Regions from separate parts of the Homo sapiens genome. Here all the other regions are linked to region 2. Evidence: promoter capture Hi-C in human tissues and cell types (Jung and others, 2019). All regions are on one chromosome and are shown on one strand. Each heading gives the region's core, a stretch centred on a gene start or on the middle of the fragment in contact. The rest is flanking DNA. Distances are from core to core; before and after follow the strand shown. Region 1 has its middle 5.4 kb from the start of IREB2. Region 2 holds the start of CRABP1 (cellular retinoic acid binding protein 1). Region 3 overlaps DNAJA4-DT (DNAJA4 divergent transcript).

Evidence for each region. The method cuts DNA at HindIII sites, captures the fragments that hold promoters and counts their contacts. A contact is called where the count stands out against the background at its distance.
Region 1: a fragment that was not itself captured here is called in contact with the fragment with the promoter of CRABP1 in region 2 in 3 of the 25 tissues and cell types used here (dorsolateral prefrontal cortex, lymphoblastoid cells and neural progenitor cells).
Region 3: a fragment that was not itself captured here is called in contact with the fragment with the promoter of CRABP1 in region 2 in 3 of the 25 tissues and cell types used here (IMR-90 fibroblasts, dorsolateral prefrontal cortex and lymphoblastoid cells).

Annotation. Positions count from the first base shown.
Region 1 is chr15:78,431,084-78,434,540 of GRCh38, forward strand. No RefSeq gene overlaps it. Among named protein-coding and RNA genes, the nearest start is that of IREB2, 5.4 kb to the right of the region's middle. The HindIII fragment of the contact is 5,689 bases long and covers 1-3,457 here.
Region 2 is chr15:78,339,005-78,342,615 of GRCh38, forward strand. It overlaps CRABP1 (cellular retinoic acid binding protein 1), which reads left to right and starts at 1,349. Exons shown (of 4, transcript NM_004378.3): 1 at 1,349-1,494; 2 at 2,039-2,217. The coding sequence starts at 1,425. RefSeq lists an enhancer at 899-1,527. The HindIII fragment of the contact is 13,960 bases long and covers 1-3,611 here.
Region 3 is chr15:78,253,462-78,257,049 of GRCh38, forward strand. DNAJA4-DT (DNAJA4 divergent transcript) reads right to left here. Exons shown (of 4, transcript XR_001751621.1): 4 at 982-1,146. Among named protein-coding and RNA genes, the nearest start is that of DNAJA4-DT, 8.9 kb to the right of the region's middle. The HindIII fragment of the contact is 4,200 bases long and covers 198-3,588 here.

The sequences.
Region 1 (3,457 bases), core at 53-2,552, 92 kb after region 2:
CCTTCTAGGAGTTGTGGGAAAAATTTGCTTCAGGCCTCTCTTCCTGGCTTGTAGACCTGTCAGCCCTATCTCCATCTTCATGATCCCACAGCGTTTCTCTCTGCGTGCTGACTTTCTTCACATGGGCTTTCCCCTGTGTGTCTATGTGCCTGTTTTCTCTTCTTAGGAGAACACCAGTCATTGGATTAGGACCAACCTTACTCCAGTATGATTTCGTCTTAACTAATTACATCGGCAATGACTTTATTTCCAAATAAGGTCACATACACAGGTATTAGGAATTAAGACTTCAACATATGAATTTTGTGGGGGCACAATTCAAACCATAACAACAGTACATTTGAAATTTATGTTTCCATGTCATTTTACTGATGGCAGTTCTGCATTTTCCCTTAGAAAACGGAATTAGGGTCCAAGGAATAAGGGTCTTTTCCATTTCCATATCTTGACACAGTTCCAAGGACAGTGTTCTGCTCTATAAGCCTGCATCAACATTCTTAATCACCTGCTGGCAACAGACAGGGATTTCGGTGAGCTTCTAAAAACTTTTAATATGTGGGCTGGGTGCGGTGGCTCACACCTGTAATCCCAGCACATTGGGAGTCTGAGGCGGGAGGATCACTTGTGGTCAGGAGTTCAAGACCAACCCAGCAAATATGGTGAAACCCTGTCTCTACAACAATAAAACAATTAGCCAGGCATGGTGGCACACACCTGCAAATCCAGCTACTTGGGAGGCTGAGGCAGGAGAATTGCTTGAACCCGGGAGGTGGATGGTGGAAGTGAGCTGAGTTCACACCACTGTACTCCAGCCTGGGCAACAGAGCAAGACTCCATCTCAAAAACAAACAAACAAACAAAACAACAACAACAACAAAACCTTTTAATGTGTGGTCTACTCTCATTGGTGAAGAGAAAAAACTCTTATCTGCATTCCTCTTGACTTGATAGGCAGAACATACAGTTACCTGCTTTGGATGAGCAATGGTTCCCTTTAATTTCATATGCCAAGGGCTGGCAGCCAACTGCTCTCCTCTTACCCACGATCAGGCTCAGCAGTGGCTACAAAGGTCAGCCACAGAATGGCAGGAGATCTTGTTTATCATGCTTTTGATTCTTGAAGATAAGACATTTATTTTGGAACTATCAATAACCAAACAGACTTTCTCTGTGTAGAACTAAAACATAGATTGAAAGAACAGAGCATCACTGAGGACTTAGCTACTAAGAGATCATACTGAGATTTAGAAAGGCCATGGGAGCCTCCAACTCACCCCCTGTAATAACTGAGACCATGTCTAACCACAGAGGTGTGGGTGGGTGAAAATATGGGCTCTAGAGTGTCATGGAGGCCAGCCACAGTGGCTCATGCCTGTAATCCCAGCATTTTGGGAGGCTGAGGTGGGAGGATCACTTGAGCCCAGGAGTTCAAGACCAGTCTTGACAGCATAGGGAGACCCCGTCTCTACAAAAAATTTAAAAGTTAGTCAGGTGTGGTGGCACATGCCTCTAGTCCCAGCTACTTGCAGGGCTGAGATGGGGGGATCGCTTGAGCCCAGGTAGTCAAGGCTGCAGTCAGCTGTGATTGTGTCACTGCACTCTAGCCTCAGTAACAGCAAGACCCTGTCTCAAAAGAAGAAAAAAAAATAGAGTCTCATGGACCTGGGCTTAAAACTCTGCTCTGATTTTAAGTTAAGTGATGGCTCCATTCCCAAAAAAAAAAAAAAAAAAAAAAAAAAGAGGAACTAAGTAAAGGCAGGTGCCTCCTGATATGATGCACCAAAAAGAACACAACATGACTTATGTAGCATACCTACCAAAAATGCATAATTAAATGTAATCATGAAGAAACAGTCAGGCTAGCCTAAATTAAAGGACATTCCACAATACAATGGGCCAATACTCTTTAAAAATGTCAATACCATAAGAGAAAATGAAACGCTAAGGAACTGTTCCAAATTAGAGAAAACTAAACAGATACGACATCTAAATCCAATGCTTTATCCTGGATAGCATTTTGGATTGGAGAAGAGTTTCTAGAAAGAACAATATTGGGACAATTGACAAAATTTAAATATGGATTGTAAACTGTGTCAATGTTTGAATATGGATTATTAATAACATTTGATGATTCAAGTTCATAAAATTTGGATATGAATTGTATTGATACAATTGATTGTGTTGTATCAATTACATTTCCTGAATTTGATCATTTTTAGTAGATACATGATAAAGTACTCAGGACTGAAGGGTCATAATCTCTAAAATTTACTCTGAAATGGTACCAAAAAAATGAGAATAAGAAATAGCCAGGTGCAGTGGCACACATCTGTAGCCCCAGCTACTTGGGAGGCTGAGGTAGGAGGATTGATTGAATCCAGGAGTTGGAGGCTACAGTGCACTATGATCTTGCTGTGAATACCTACTGCACTCCAGACCAGGCAACACAGTGAGACTGTGTCTCAAAAAAAGAAAAAGAATAAGAAATAATGAGGATCTTATCTCTGAAATAGCAGAGAGGGAGAGAGAGACAAGGCAAATGTGGCAAAATGTTAACAGTAAATAAATAAACCTAATTAAGGTATATATGAAGTTTTATTATAATTATCTTGCAATTCTTCTGTATTCTTGAATTTTGTTTTTCGAAATAAAATGTTTAATTTAAAAAGTAGAGATGGGCCAGGTGCAGTGGCTCATACCTGTAATCCCAGCACTTTGGGAGGCCAAGGTGGGCAGACAGCTTGAGTACAGAAGTCGAGACCAGCCTAAGGAACATAGGAAAACCCTGTCTCTACAAAAAATACCAAAATTAGCTGGGCATGGTGGCGTGCGCCTGTGGTCCCAGGAACTCAGGGGCTGAGGTGGGAGAATTACTTGAGCCCAGGAGATGGAGGTTGCAGTGAGTCGAGATCACCCCACTGCACTCCAACCTGGGCAACACAGTGAGACTCTCTCTCAAAAAAAAAAAAGGAGAGGTGAACCAGCCTGGACATTGCCCGAGACACTGATCTAAAAGGGTGCTAAAATCTCACTGGAAATGTAACTTGAAAAAAAATGTATAGTGAAAACATACCATAAGCTTCCATTTGCATAGCATTCAAAATAGGGTGTAGGGGATGAGGAAATGGCAGCCTAGGAGGAAAACAGCTGCGGTTATAAAACGGCAACAGGAAGGATCCTTGGAAATGTTCCATATCTTGACTGTAGTGATGGCCACACAAAGCCACACACGTGAACTAAATACACACGTGCATGTGCGCGCACACACACACACACACACACACACCCTACAAAGGAGTACATGTAGAACTGCCTAAATCTGAGTAAGGTGGAATGATTGTATGAATGTCAATTTGCTCGTTTTTATATTGTACTATGCTACATGGAGAAAGACTAGGTGAAGAGTATACGGGATCTTTATTACTTAGTACAACTACATGTAAATCTACAATTGTCA
Region 2 (3,611 bases), core at 99-2,598:
CAGCACAGATTCCCCAAGGTCCTGGGGGAATCTTCACCCCAGGCCACCACTCACATCCTCCTCAAATCAATGCACAGTTATCGAGCCCCACCTGGCTAAGCCTTAGGAAGGGAGGACAAGTGGATAAACGATCACTGCCCTCCAGGAGTTCAGTTTATAGCAGAGCGAAGACTTGAACAAGAGCAGGACCGGACAAGAATCCTGTCAATTCAGAGAAAAATAATCACAGTTTATTAGGAAACTGAATTTCACAAAAGAGAGAGCATAAAGATGGGCTTTCGTGAATGGGCAAGATTTGATTAACCCGATGAGGAAAGGGGCATTCAAGGAAGAAGCCATGGCATGGGCAAAAACTTAGAGATAATAAAATGCATGGCACGTTCTAGAATCCTGAATTGTACAGTTTGGCTGAGGTGTGCAGATGGTAAAATAGTGGGAAAAAGCTGGAAGGAAAATGTACAGAGAAGAGCTACAAGGGTAATAGTGAAGTGTTTGTACTCCCTTAGTGGAAACACCGAGGGGACTTTAGGTCGTGATGTTTAGGTTATTTGGGAGCAAAGGGAGAAGACTTCCTCCCCTTGGCCCTCACAGCCTGCCCGAAGAGTGCAAAGCCTCACGCTTTTGCAAAACAGGCCGCACCTAGCCCAGATTCTGGAGCTGATTCAGTCCATGCCTCTCGACCCACAGTTTGTCCTGAGCCCTGACAAAGGTCTGGCCCCCTCCTGCACTCGGAACGCGGAGGACCCGCAGCTCGTGGATTCGCGCCTCAGTGCCCAAGCTGGTGTTGATGGGGGTTGCGGTTTCCTGCCACTCACTCCCCATGGGTCCTGTGGGGGGCGTGGGGATGCGGGGAGAGGGTTTCAGAATAGGATCCCGGACTGGGAGGGAAGGGACACCATCTGGGCACACCCAGTAGGTACGACCGGAGGTGAAAAAAGAGTGGGTCCCATCCCCTGATGGCCCCGCTCGCTATCCACTTTAAGTTTATGTTATGGATATTTTCAAACATATTCAAAAGTAGAGAGAAAAGTAGAATCATAACCCAAGTCCACACCGCCCAGCTTCAACAGTTATCCCCTCCAAGCCCATCTTGTTTCAGCTAACCCTCTCCCACCACCCATTTTAAAGCGGGATGTGGGTGTCCTGAGGGAGGTGGAGGCTCCCCAGTTGGAGAGCGGGTGCCCGCACCTCTGGAGGCTGAGGCACAACTGGGCTGGGAGTTGAGCGCATACCGAGTAGGGGCTGCGGGGGAGCGGGGGCAGGGCCGGCGGGGCGGGGCCAGAAGCCCGGCGGGGTTGGGGGCGCTCTCCTAGTGACTCAAGGCGCGCAGCGCTGGGCGCAAAGCGCCAGTCTCCGCCTTGCGAGCTCAGAGTGTGCCCGCTGCGCCGCCGCTGTCCGTACCTGCCGCCGCCGCCACCGCCACCATGCCCAACTTCGCCGGCACCTGGAAGATGCGCAGCAGCGAGAATTTCGACGAGCTGCTCAAGGCACTGGGTAAGCTGGTGCAGAGGGCGCGCCCCGACGGGGAGATGCGGCCCGGAGGTGCCCTGGTCCCGGAAGTGCCCCGGTCCTGGAGGGGGTGGAAGTTGGGGAGCCCAGGCAGGAGGGAGTCCCCGGGGCAATAGATCGCCTTGTCTCCCAGGCGCACCGGGTCTCGGAGAAGCTGGTAGAGATCCCGGAACCCACGCGTTCAGCGAACGTTTGCTGAATGTTTGGCGCCCTCCTCGATGGTGCGGACTTTATCTCGTGCTAGATCATAGCGAGGAGAGATTACTGGAGAGCAAGGAGGATCAGGGACTTAAATTTGGAGACTCAAATTTGGGACCAGGCTCTGCCACGAATTCACTGTGCAACTCGAGGAAAGTCACTTACCCTCTCTGTGCCTCAGTCTCTCATCTCGAAAACAAGGGCGAGGGCAGGGAAACGAGTGGATCAATTTTAAGGCCCCTTTCTAAAGTTAGGGTATGACCAGTGCCCGACCGGTCCCGAGACTGGCGGCGAGGCCCCGTGACCCAAGCCTGTGGTGCACCCTGCGCAGGTGTGAACGCCATGCTGAGGAAAGTGGCCGTAGCGGCTGCGTCCAAGCCGCACGTGGAGATCCGCCAGGACGGGGATCAGTTCTACATCAAGACATCCACCACGGTGCGCACCACTGAGATCAACTTCAAGGTCGGAGAAGGCTTTGAGGAGGAGACCGTGGACGGACGCAAGTGCAGGGTGAGGCCCCAGAGCCACTACAGCGTCCCCGTGTCCCCGCTCGGTGCCCATGGCCCACTGCTGCTGGAGGAACCTGTGTCTCCCTTTGCAGCCTGTGGCGCGCCTTCCTTGCAGGGTGTGTACACTGGCTGTTTGCAGAGGGGGTTTGTGCATCCTAGTTGCCCCTGGCTCAAGACAAAGTATTACCTTCATTCCATCTCAACCCCATCCCTACGCTGCCTCCCGGGGTGCTAACAGCCGCGCTTAAAGAGCGGGCTCTGGGTTGCGCCGCGTTCCCAGCAGTGGCTTTTGCAGCGGTTTGCAGCGCCAAGCGCAGGCGGCGCAGGAGGAGGAGGAGGTTGCAGGAGCCGCCAGGTTCTCTGTCGCAGGTGAAGCCGCAGCTCTTGCATTCCTTTCCCGCCGTATCCCCCGCGCCCGCCCGGGTCCCTGGGCCGCCTGGGTACGCTCTGGATACAGTTTTAGCAGTCCCGATGGCCCCGTCACCTCTCCCTTCCCGCCTTCGGCCTGGTTCCTTAAAGGAACGGCGGAGTCTTTCCAAAAGCAAGGCAGGTTCTGGCTGGGAAAATGGACTAGTTGCCCTCTCTTAGTCCTCAAGGGCAAGAGTTTTTTTTTATTTCTCCATGCATCGGCCCAGGGATGAACCGGTGGATTGAAGCAAGGGGTTGTACATTCGTTTTTTGCATGGGCAAAAATTGCATTTGGTTAACCAGATGGAAAAATAATCACCGGTGCTACCACTTATTTAAAAAGTGACAGAATGTCTCCCTCCCCTTCTCCAATTTTTTTTTTTTAAAGAAAAAAGTCGTAACATTCCAGAGAGTGGGAAATTGTTTCTTTCACCTTTCCTGAGCAGTGCCTGGTCTGATCTCGGAATGGGACTCTCTGAGCACCGGGCTTGGAAGGACAAAGAAACAAAGCCCCCCAGAAGCAGGCTGATCTAGGAGGCAATCTTTGGCTCCAGAATTGTCATAGCCTGGAAATGATCTCCACGCTTGGAGGGGGTGGGATCTGAAGCCTAAACTGCACTGCAGAAACAAAGAGCAGGACAGCATAGAGTGAAGGGCTGGGAGTCTAAGAGAGGAGGCTTGGCAATAGGCAGGGCTCAGTCTGGGGACATCCAATGTTGGCTACTGCCAGGAAGGGTAATTCTGATTTAAAAAAAAAAAATTAAAGGTTCACACAACAGCCGGGAGAGTGGGGCTTTATGCACCCCCCATCCCCCCACACCTTGCCTAATGAATGTGTCCCATGTGTTAGTTAAAAACTGATTATGTGCACATTCAGCTCTGGCCCACCCCCCAGCCCAGCTGTACCACACTTAGCTTTGTGCAGACACTGGGGAAAAACTTCAGGAAATCCCTCCTTTTGCCTCCCACCTCCAAAAGCATGAAGAG
Region 3 (3,588 bases), core at 1,048-3,547, 85 kb before region 2:
CAGTTACTTGAGAGGCTGAGGTGGGAGGATAACTTAAGCCTGGGAGATAGAGGCTGCAGTGATCCATGATGATGCCACAGCATCCCAGCCTGGGTGACAGAGTGAGGCCTTGTCTCAATAAAAAATCTTGATAAATAAATAAAAGATACTCTGTAGTGCTGCCAAATATTCAGAGCAACTGGAACTCATCTACATGGCATACATATTCCATTGTATACAATGCAATAACCATTTTGAAAAACTGCTTAGCAGTTGTGAAATAATAAGAAATATACATGTTGGTTTCTGCCCCCAGTTCCTGGCCCAGAGCTACTAAAACTCTTGTAATTTCCTTAGGAAAATAGGAGTGCCAGGAGGATCTTTTGTTCTAATATTTAGTCTTTGATCCAGATTCCTAACACAGAGCTCCTACATCCCAGGGAATGTCCTGGGTGATAGGACCGTCTTTTGTTCTAACAAAGTGACTCTTCATGGGCTCCTGAATTGCCTCAAGATGACAGCTGGTTGCCAGGAGAACCAACCGTGCGATTAAAGAATGGAACTCGGCCAGTGTGGTGGCCCATTCCTATAATCCCAGCATTTTAGGAGGCTGAGGTGGGAGGATTGCTTGAGCACAGGAGTTCAAGACCAGCCTGGGCAACATAGTGAGTGAGACTTTATCTCTACTAAAAATAAAAAATTGGCTGCGTATGGTGGCATGAACTTGTAGTCCCAGCTACTCAGGAGGCTGAGGCAGGAGGATCACTTGAACCCGGGAGTTTGAGGTTGCAGTAAACTATGATTGAGCCACTGCACTCAAGTCTGGACAATATAGCAAGACTCTGTCTCTCTCAAAAAAAAAAAAAAAAAAAAAAAAAAAAGGAACTCCCAGCCCTGCCTCCCTGACCACCCTGGTGGAGGGCAGAAGGGCTGGAGATTGAGTTAATCACTGAGGCCAATGATGTAATCCATCATACCTATGTAATGAAGCCTCCATAACAGTTCAAATGGACAGGGTTCGGAAGAGCTTCCAGACAGCTGAACATGTGGAGGTTCCTGGAGGGTGGTGCATGCAGGGAGGGCATGGAAGCTCTGCTCCCCTCCCCACAGGCCTCGCTCCGTGCATCTTTTCCACGAATGCTGTTCATCTGCATTCTTCGTAACAGCCTGTATAATAAACTGGTAAACATAACTAAAGTGTTTCCGGAGTTCTATGAACTGCTCTAGCAAATTAATTGAACCCAAGGAGGGGGTTGTGGAAACCCCAATTCATAGCTGGCCAGAGGCACAGGTTGTGATTGGCATCTAAAGTGGGAGGGCATCTAAAGTCTTGCGATACTGACCTGTGGGGTCTGAGGCTATCTCCAGGTAGACAGTGTCAGAATTGAGTTAGAGGACACCCAGCTGATGTCCACTGCAGAACAGCTTGCTTGGTTGTCAGTGAGGCAAGACCTCACACAGCAGTAACACAGACACCTATTCTGTGACCCGGTAAATCCACTCTCAGGTATGAGAGTGGATGAGAAATGAAACCACACATTCACACAAAGATTCATGCAAGCAGCTTTATACATGGTAGACTGAAACAGTAAGCAACCCAAATGCCCATCATCAGGATAATGAATAAACACATCGTGGTATATCCATGCAATAGAATATTTCTCATCAGGACAAATGGACTAATGAGACAGACATGTAGGGCCATGGACAAATCTCAAAAAGGTGTAATGAATAAAAGAAACCAGACTAAAAACATCTCCTACCATATGGTTCCATTTATACGGAACTCAAGAATAGACAAATATAGTCTGTGGTGACAGAACTCAAAAGAATGCGGAAACTTTCAGGGGTGACAGAAGTACCTATATCTTGATCCAGGTGGTCACATAGGTCTACACATGTGAGCAGCCCACTTAAGCTTTGTGCATTTTACTGTATGTGATTTATATATAAAGTATTATGAAAATTTAAAAATTAATATAGGTGGTCCCCTTTCAGGTTACAATGGTCCCTTTCTGTGAATGCTTACCTGTCCCAGGCCTGGCTCCCCAGGTCTGCCCTCTGGTTCCTGGGTGTGTAGGAGGATTGACTGTTTCTTCCTGGATGCTGGACCACCCAAGGTGGGGACACCTGTCACCCAGTCCCAGCTGGTCCTGATGGCCTGCTCTGTGAGGCCTGCAGCAGGTGAACATGGGGCATTCTTTCTCTCCACTGTACAGGGACCCATGATTCCCTTATTGATTCAGCTGTTCCTCGGTCCTCATTGGCAAAGAATGGTATCATGTATTATTGTCTTAATTGGCATTTCTTGGATTAGTAGTGATAGTAGTGAGGCTGAGCTTCTAAAATATGGTTACTGGACATCTTTATCTATTTATTCAGAGCCTGACTTTATTTATTTATTTATTTATTTATTTATTTATTTATTTTTTGAGACAAGTTCTCACTCTGTTGCTCAGGCTGGAGTGCAGTGGTACATTCAGGGCTCACTGCAGCCTCAACCTCCCCAGCTCACTCAAGCAATCCTCCCACCTCAGCCTCCCAAGTAGCTGAAACTGCAGGTGCACACCACCACATCTGGGTAATTTTTTTCTATTTTTGTAGAGATAGGGTGTCACTATGCTGCCCGGGCTGGTCTCAAACTCCTGGACTCAAGCAATCCTCCTGCCTTGACCTCCCAAAGTGCTGGGATTATAGGTGACAGCCACCATGCCTGGCCAGAGCCTGACATTTTCTAGGGCCTGGTTCCACATAATGGTTAACAGCGAAAAAGAAAGGAAAGATGTATTTTTGCCAAGCAAGCATTTCTGAAGGATATATATATTTTTTGCAACAAGATTCTGTTCTTCTTTCTTCTGTGCCTTTCCCAGGAGGGAGTATCTTTTTGAGGGGTAATTTTTTGTGACAACAACGACAGTAACAATAAAAAATGGAACCATCTGCTCATCCAGACTCAGTAAAATTGGCTTGAATGCCTCAAATTTGACAGCCCACAGCACTCCAAAGCTTTCCTCACAATCCTGTGCATTCTCTGGGGCAGAGGGTTCCATGGCCCCCTCTGCAGGTGTTCACCCCCTCCTTCCACGTTCACTCTACCCTGCACACACACCCACACACACAAGCACCAAATATTTGTGAGTTTAGCAGACTGAAGATGGGCTGGGGTGGTGAGGAGACAGGAGGGCCTAGCAGGCTCACCTGATTCAAACCTATCTTCATCCTGCAGGCTCTTCTCTCTTCCCTCTCCCTCCTTTTCTTTTCTTTTTTTTTTTTTTTTTTTGAGACGGGGTCTTGCTCTGTGGCCCAGGTTGGAGTGCAATGGTGCTATCTCGGCTCACTGCAACCTCTGCCTCCCGGGTTCAAGTGATTCTTCTACCTCAGCCTCCTGAGTAGCTGGGATTACAGGTGTGCACCACCACACCCAGCTAATTTTTGTATTTTTAGTGGAGACAGGGTTTCGCCAGGTTGGCCAAGCTGGTCTCGAACTCCTGACCTCAGGTGATCTGCCTGACTTGGGCTCCCAAAGTGCTGGAATTACAGGCATGAGCTACCACGCCCAGCCCCCTCTCCCTCCTTGCTTCTTATTTTTCTCCCTCTTGAGAGCCTAAC